Regions from separate parts of the Homo sapiens genome. Here regions 1 and 3 are each linked to region 2. Evidence: promoter capture Hi-C in 16 types of primary human blood cells and fetal thymus (Javierre and others, 2016). All regions are on one chromosome and are shown on one strand. The core of a region is centred on a gene start or on the middle of the fragment in contact, and the rest is flanking DNA. Distances in the headings are between cores, read along the strand shown. Region 1 overlaps AQR (aquarius intron-binding spliceosomal factor). Region 2 holds the start of SLC12A6 (solute carrier family 12 member 6). Region 3 overlaps AQR (aquarius intron-binding spliceosomal factor).

What was found. Contacts are between HindIII fragments. The CHiCAGO score rates a contact against its expected background, and 5 or more counts as called.
Region 1: a contact is called between a fragment that was not itself captured here and the fragment with the promoter of SLC12A6 in region 2, in 1 of 17 cell types (naive CD8 T cells). The highest score is 5.9, in naive CD8 T cells.
Region 3: a fragment that was not itself captured here is called in contact with the fragment with the promoter of SLC12A6 in region 2 in 5 of 17 cell types (total CD4 T cells, total CD8 T cells, naive CD8 T cells and 2 more); the score reaches 7.7 in total CD4 T cells.

Annotation. Positions count from the first base shown.
Region 1 is chr15:34,918,175-34,920,874 of GRCh38, reverse strand. It overlaps AQR (aquarius intron-binding spliceosomal factor), which reads left to right. Exons shown (of 35, transcript NM_014691.3): 14 at 441-543; 15 at 2,497-2,617. Among named protein-coding and RNA genes, the nearest start is that of AQR, 50 kb to the left of the region's middle. The HindIII fragment of the contact is 9,536 bases long and covers 1-2,700 here.
Region 2 is chr15:34,336,528-34,339,227 of GRCh38, reverse strand. It overlaps SLC12A6 (solute carrier family 12 member 6), which reads left to right and starts at 1,447. Exons shown (of 26, transcript NM_001365088.1): 1 at 1,447-1,896; 2 at 2,476-2,700. The coding sequence starts at 2,548. RefSeq lists a silencer at 1,033-1,592. The HindIII fragment of the contact is 4,998 bases long and covers 1-2,700 here.
Region 3 is chr15:34,942,074-34,944,773 of GRCh38, reverse strand. AQR (aquarius intron-binding spliceosomal factor) reads left to right here. Exons shown (of 35, transcript NM_014691.3): 6 at 346-486; 7 at 2,694-2,700. It also overlaps the pseudogene RPL36AP8. Among named protein-coding and RNA genes, the nearest start is that of AQR, 26 kb to the left of the region's middle. The HindIII fragment of the contact is 1,540 bases long and covers 618-2,157 here.

The sequences.
Region 1 (2,700 bases), core at 199-2,698, 580 kb before region 2:
GCCATTTTCCTGCCTCAGCCTCCCGAGTAGCTGGGACTACAGGCGCCCGCCACCACGCCCGGCTAATTTTTTGTATTTTTAGTAGAGACGGAATTTCACCATGTTAGCCAGCATAGTCTCGATCTCCTGACCCCGGGATCTGCCTGCCTCGGCCTCCCAAAGTGCTGAGATTACAGGCCTGAGCCACCTTGCCCTGCCGGTATTAATATTTAAAAGTGTTCTTGGGGACTGCCCAGAAGGATCTTGGGTACAATGAGAGGTTTGCAGAAAATATTTTGAGAACCCTGCACTAAAGCCTTAATTTTCATTGCTGGTTTTTGATATTTGCTGCCCATGTCATAGTATTATATTTGCTTTTTTAAGCTATTTGTAAAAATACATGTTTCAAAAGTGAAGTGAAGTAAGTTACTATGAATAAAATATTGTTCTCTATTCTGCAGTTCAAACACACTCCACCAGGTGGCATCATACCTCTGCTTGTTGCCAACTCTTCCTAAAAATGAAGACACAACTTTTGATAAAGAATTTCTTCTAGAATTGCTGGTAAATATTAATGTTCTCTGAATTTTGCATGTGGTTTTCCTTGCCTTTTAAAGTCATTCTTAAAGATGTAGGTTCATATAGATTTTTTTGTGGGCCAAAGATTAGGCAGATAATTCCCATTTTGTTTTTGGAATTGTATTATCATTTGATTTTTTGTTTTCTCATCTTTCGAATTTCTTTACTCAAGTATTTTATCTCTTCGAACTACTTTCTGGATGAATCATTCTATTAGCAACTATTTATATGCAAATCACTTTCATTGTCTCTTTCAGTTCCTAAAAATTCCTGTGCTATTTTCTGACAATGTAAAACCTCTCATGAGTAAGGTTTTTGGAATTAATAATAACTCTTTGCAATAGAAAGAAATGAGGATTTTTTTCAGGAATTCTTCTTCTTTTTTTGTTTTTTTGTTTGTTTGTTTGTTTTGTTTTTTTGATACCGAGTCTCTCTCTGTCGCCCAGGCTGGAGTGCAGTGGCGTGATCTCAGCTCACTGCAACCTCTGCCTCCCAGGTTCAAGTGATTCTCGTGCCTCATCTTCCCGAGTAGCTGGTATTACAGATGTGTGCCACCACTCCCAGCTAATTTTTGTATTTTGAGTAGAAGATAGAGTTTCGCCACGTTGGCCAGGCTGGTCTTGAACTCCTGGCCTCAAGTGATTGACCCACCTCAGCCTCCCAAAGTGTTGGGTTACAGGCATGAATCACCGTGCCCAACCTGTTTTCAGGAATTCTTCTAATGGAAAATAAGTTTGAGGATAACGTTGATCCTGTGCCTATTAAGGTCTTGTGGCTAGAATTTTATTCCTAAAATTTAAATAGTTCCAACAAAAGAAAATAATTTTTAAAATGTATAGTGCTACAACATTATGTTTTGTTTCCTCCCTTCCCTAAAGGATTTCCCCAGGCTTTGGATTCTTCTACTATTCAATTTATGATCAAAAAGTTAAAACATACATATTGTTTAGATATCATGATTTTTTCTATAATTATACTATCTTCACTGAAGAGAATGTGATACATTTTAAGAATATGTCATTTTAGCATTATTAGATAAACACTTATTTTTCTTTTTCTTTCTTTTTTTTTTTTTTTTGAGATGGAGTCTCACTCTGTCCCCCAGGCTGGAGTGCAATGGTGCAATCTCGGTTCACTGCAACTTCCGCCTCCCGGGTTCAAGCAATTCTCTTGCCTCAGCCTCCTGAGTAGCTGGGATTACAGGTGTGCACCACCACGCCCAGCTAATTTTTGTATTTTTAGTAGAGATGGGGTTTCACCATGTTGGTCAGGCTAGTCTTGAACTCCTCACCTCAGGTGATCCACCTGCTTCAGCCTCCCAAAGTGCTGGGATTAAAGGCATGAGCCACTGCACCCGGTGTAACACTTATTTTCATATTTGAGATAGATTATTAATATTAAGGGTACACAGAGGTCATCATGGAAAGGAACATAGAGTGAGAAGACTAGGGTGATAGATTAATAAACTTTCCCAGATGGTATAGCTAGTTAGTATAAGAATGAAAACTATAGTCCAAAACCTAGAGCTCCTATTTTTTCCTACATTGATTAATGCTAAGTGTCATGGTTTTTAAACCCTTGGCATGTGCCAGGGACTTTGACACTATTTCATATTTCATTGGAAACTTGAGATGTGTGGCACTTTATCTGTTTTAGTGAAAAGGAAACTAAGGTTAGGAAGGTTAAAGTAACGTGCCCAGCTTTTACAGTACTCATAAGTAGAGGAGCTGGGATTTGAACTCAGGTCTGTCTGATTCCAAAGACCATTACCATTGGTTTGTTTCTCATCTTTGATCTATGGAGAAAATAGGAAAAGAAAAAAAAATCGCTTGTTGAACTGCTACAATAACTGATAGGCATGAAACTTCTTCCATAAATTATTTTGATTGAAAAAAGATGCTTCTAACCTTCTGCATGAACTTGTTTCCTTTATTTTAGGTATCTCGTCATGAACGTCGAATTTCTCAGATTCAGCAGTTGAACCAGATGCCTTTGTATCCAACTGAGAAAATTATATGGGATGAAAATATTGTCCCAACTGAGTACTATTCTGGAGAAGGTATGGTAAAGAAGTATGGATTCAGCTGTACAATGAAACAATTTCAGATTTATCATATATAATTGGCAATTATAGGCAGTGTA
Region 2 (2,700 bases), core at 198-2,697:
TTTTGATCCTTTAATCCTTGAAAGGATTTGGACTTTGTGTGTCATTTGATAAAAGAGAACTTCCGGGAATACAGTTCCCATTGCTAGGAGTGCTGCTTAAACATAACCACTTGTGAGGAGCCAAGACCCCAGGCAAAACCGGGGGCCAGTTTCTGGGCCCAGGTGATTGTTAAATTTAGAGGTCTTGATCACAGCTATAGGAAATAGCTTTTCAAACAAAACATTGGTGAGTCAGAATTTATCGAACACCACCATTTATACATTAAATAAACACTAAGAAAAAATATTCTAGCGACAAATGTAGTGGTGAAAACATGGAATGGATTTGAGAAAATACATCAACGTCTTCTCCAGGTATAAAAAAACGTATTATTTAGTGGAACTTTCAGTCTGACTAGAAAGTGGACATAGCATTTATTAAAAGGACAAGAACAACAACAAAAAATTAAAGTAGGACAAATGTGTTTAAGGTACTTTATAGTTTTATTTTTATTTATTTATTTCTTTGAGACGGAGTTTTGCTCTTGTCCCCCCAGGCTGGAATGCAATGGTGCGTTCTCGGCTCACTGCAACCTCCGCCTCCCAAGCTCAAGCGATTCTCCTGCCTCAGTCTAAGGAATAGCTGGGATTACAGGCACACGCCACCACGCCCGGCTAATTTTTGAATTTTTGGTAGAGACGGGGTTTCGCTATGCTGGCCAGGCTGGTCTGGAACTCCTGAGCTCAGGTGATCGATCACGCCCGCCTCAGCCTCCCAAAGTGCTAGGATTACAGTCGTGAACCACCGCGCCAGGCCTACTTTATAGTTTTAATTTTTTTTTTTTACATAAAAGTGGTTTATTTGTATGTAGACCTCTACATAAAAATTACAATGAGGGTTATTCCCAGGTATAGGAGCGGTGTTTCTGGTTAAAGAAATCATGAATGATGTTTTCAGAGACACTCATGAAAGAGAAATGGCTCCCCGGGTTCTGAGGGTGAGGAGCAGCGCCCGCCCTCTAGGATGCTTCCAGAGTGAGTGTGCAGCACAGCCGGACCGAGGAAAAGGATTATTCCCCTCTTCACGCGGGTCGGGCCGTGCCCTGGACTACAGCTCCCGTCGTGCCCCTGGCCACTCGTATTCGGCCCCGCCCCGCCTGCCGTGTCCCGCGGCGAGCGCAGGCGCGCTGCACTCGGTCACCGCGGGCTGCGGCGGCTGGGCGGGGCTTTCGGGCGCCCGCGGGACGGTTCCGCCCTCTCACTGCACCCCCGGGCTTCTCTTCGCAAGGTTCACCTCGAATGAGGAACAAGCGGGGAGGGAAGGGAAGGGCTGCGGCGGCGCGGGCGCACCCCGTCGGGCCCGGGGCTGGGGGAGGCCAGGTCACGTAACTGCTGCTCTGGCGTCGGGCCGGGGAGGGGGCGCCAGCCCCGGCAGCGCGAACCCTGCGCGCGCCGCGGCTCTGAAACAGTTACCGGCTAGTAAACAACAGCTGCGCGCGCACCCGCATCAGCTGGCGCCGGGATACTGCACCTGCGACCTCCTTCTCCCTCACCCTGCTGCCCAGTCAGGCCAGCCTGCGTGGCCGTCTCCTCCTCTACTGGGACCCTGAGGAAGAACGACGAGGGGGTGACCTGCGCCGGGGCGGGGGTAGGGGAGAACGCGCCTCCGGCAAAGGGGGTGGCTCGTCCTGTCACACGCAGGAGAAACCTAGCGAGCGGACCGTGGCTCAGTGGACTAGCTACGACTTGCCACGACTCTGAGCTGCAGTCCGAGGTGTCTTGATCCGCTAACCTCCTCCCAGACCCCGAGGACCTTTCTGCTAGGAGAAGAGCGGGCGCGCCACCCCCACCGACCTCTCGGAGACAGGAATCCGCTCTGCCCCTGCATCCTCCTCTGCTCACCCTTCTCTCAGTAGTGTGGGTTATTTTTCCCGTTATGCATGTGCACCTTTCCCACCAGACCCAAGTGGATTGTCGACATCAAAAACACCGGGTGGCTTTGCATACACCTCCCCCCAGCCAGACCTGTGGGGTATTCACCTGATACACAACAGGTGGCCGGGTGTACACCTTTTAGCAATCTGATCCACGCTATAGTCGCCTGATAAAGGTTTGCCTGCACGCACTTCGCCCAACTAGAACCGTGGGACACTCACCAGATAAAGGACTACCTCGACAGGAAACTGGGGGCTGAGGGGAGGGAGGCTTCATCTGCTGCCCTGAGACCATGGCACTGAGCCTTCAGCCCCGGACCAGAGGGGTTAGCTAGGTAGCTCTTCATTCTGAAGGAAAGAAGTCACACAAGATTGGCATTGTTTTGTCTTTTTGTTTTTTGTTTTTTTCTCTCTTAAAAAATATATTCACCTATTGGTGATGCACTTTCTAGGACAGTCGGCTTGAATTCTGAGTAGAAGTATTCTTAGTTGGGGCTTTTTGTGTGGTGTGAATCAAGGTTATTGAAATGTGTTATTTTTCAAGTTATCTTTTGTATTGCAGTCAAAAGTAGCTAGCGTAAGAGGAAGATTTTGCGAGGTTCCCCCCACTTTTTTTGTTCTTAAAAAGAACAAAATGCATCCTCCAGAAACCACCACCAAGATGGCTTCAGTTCGGTTCATGGTGACACCGACAAAGATCGATGACATTCCAGGTTTGTCAGACACCAGTCCGGACCTCAGCTCTCGATCTAGTTCCCGAGTAAGATTTAGCTCCCGGGAAAGCGTG
Region 3 (2,700 bases), core at 138-2,637, 610 kb before region 2:
TTTCTTTTGTTTAAATCAGAGAAATTAAAACACTTCAGATCCTTAATAAGAAAACAAAGCCTAAGCTAAATACAGGCATAATCCACAGAGGAAAAACTAAAGAAATGAAAGCCATTATTTTATTAGCTAAAGGGTTCTGCAGCTCTCTCATAGTCCTGTCAGAAACCTGTATTTGACTTGCCATTAATTATAAGTAAGCACGTGATGCTTCTTTTATACATATACAAATAACCCTTTTGTAATTATTTGGTTTTTTTAATAGACTGCTAAAAAGCCTACTAGGGCTTCTTTAAAGCTTAAGTGAGCAAGCCAATACAAAATGAATTTTATTCTGTTTCTTTTCAGATTTTTAAGAAGAAGCCAGACCACTTCCCATTCTTTTTTAAACACATCTTGAAGGCGGCATTAGCTGAAACTGATGGTGAATTTTCACTTCATGAACAGACAGTCTTACTACTTTTTCTTGATCATTGCTTCAATAGTTTGGTACTTTTACTTTATATTTTGGGGTAATTTTCAAGTTTTCTTGTTCTTTTAGGTTGAGTTTAGATGAAATTACCTCTGTAGCCAACTCCATTCATCCATAATAGCAGGCAATAAGGATAATGCTAAAAGCTTGATTTCAGCCACTTATCAGTAAAACCATTTTATAAGTCTTTAAGATATGTTTTTATAAGATATGTTCACTTTTTAATAGATTTGAAATTGATACTTAATTTTTTCTATCTAGACTCTTAAGAAAAATGATTATAAGAACTGAAACTCTAAAGGGAGAGCACAAAAATGAGAAGCAGCAAGGAGACTGGTTATATGGAATTGGAGTAATGAGATCTGTGCCACAAACTGCATATACATACAGGAATGTAGTTTCATTGCTTTTCATCATGCCTTATGCATAGGCTGGTTAGTCAACAGGAGAGTTGTATTTTGAGTTGACTGATAAAGGCCAAGTGTAAATGATCTTTGAAAATGTCTTGTGTGTGATACATTTTCATCCTTCATAAGATTATCTTCTAAAAAATTAAATATTTTCAGTAATATTTTATTTGAGCTTTCCTGTGTGGTTAGCTGATAAATACACATATTTATTTAGTGCCTCTGAATTGATAATTCACTTACACCCATGCAGGAGGAATGCATGGAGTTCTTTCTTATTCTGAAGACTGAGTGTTAATAGATGGATGATTATTACCTGTTTCCATGTACTATCTCACATGGATCTTTTAAAGGCATAAAAAAAGATTTATGATGCCTGCACTGGATACCACTGTTATCTCTTTAACATTTATTTTTATTTATTTATTTATTTATTTATTTATTTATTTATTTTGAACATAAACTCAAGATTTTATTGTCTTCATAATAAAAGATGACACTTAGAACTGAATCACTTGGCCCTTTCTCTTCTTATCTCCTCCCAGTTCAAAATGCTTGCATCTTTTAATAGCCAGCATTCTCTTAGATCTGCAGTTGGGCTCAATGCACTCAAGCCTTAGCACAATCTTTGTAGTTTTAGCCTTTTTCCAGAAAATTGGCTTAGTTTGCCCACCATAGCCACTCTGCTTCCTGTCATAACGCCGCTTTCCCTGGGCATACAGAGAATCCTTGCCCTTCTTGTACTGTGTCACTTTATGGGGTTGGTGCTTGCCACACTTCTTACAGAAAGTCCGGCGGGTTTTAGGGACGTTAACCATGCTTGCGTGAGCGTTATCGGCACAGAAAGCCTCTTTAACATTTATTAAACTAAACAGAACAAATAGAAATATAAATAGATGTGATTTTTTTATCAGAAACTAAACAGAAACAAGATTTTATTAGTATTAGTAATTTGGTGATAGTTTTAGCCAACTTACCAAACTAGTTTATTATTGAAATGCTTTATCTTTTAAAATATGCAGTCAGTTCTTATTTGAGGTAGTTATGTTCATTTTATAAAGTAGCTATGAACATTGAATGAGCTAATGCTGAACCATTACTCCTTGGGGAAATACAGGGTTAGGTTCCTGCAAGCCTTGGTCATGACATTTTACAAACTATCAATACATAGCCTTATTTTATGTGTGTTTCTATTTAAAGACAGCTTATTTATTGTATATTATTGATTCATTAACCATGAACTCACTGCCAACAGCACTGTAATTATGCCTGAACGAAGCTTATCTAACATACGTATTTACTCTGTAAGACATATCACAGCCTTCTTGCACCCATGAACATCAGACAGCACTTCAGCCTTGGGCTTGTTGCCATTTTAAACAGCGAAATCATCAAAAAGCACAAGCGTGCCAAAAAAAATAGTACTCAATAGACCACAAAAAGGATACTTGTTTCTTACAGTATGAGAGCTGAGAATGAAGCAGAGCATCAGCTCAGTCTCACCTGAGAATGTGCACGTCGGACAACTCAGATTTTTGTTTGGGCCATCTGGATGACTGTGAAAGCACATGGAGTGTTGATTTTGGGGTTACAAATACATTTTTATTAGTATATGAATTTGCAAGTACAAAATCTGTAGATAATAAGGATGGAGTCTTTTTTAAAGCATTGAACTTCTTAATATCAAAATATTAACTTGAAAATATTTGTGGCATGTTTTCCCTCCAGGACTTAAAAAGGCAGTATACTTCTTATGTAAAGACTTAGGTAGAAATGCTGGTATGTTTATAAACTTATTTTCTTCATGCCCTAAACAGGAAGTAG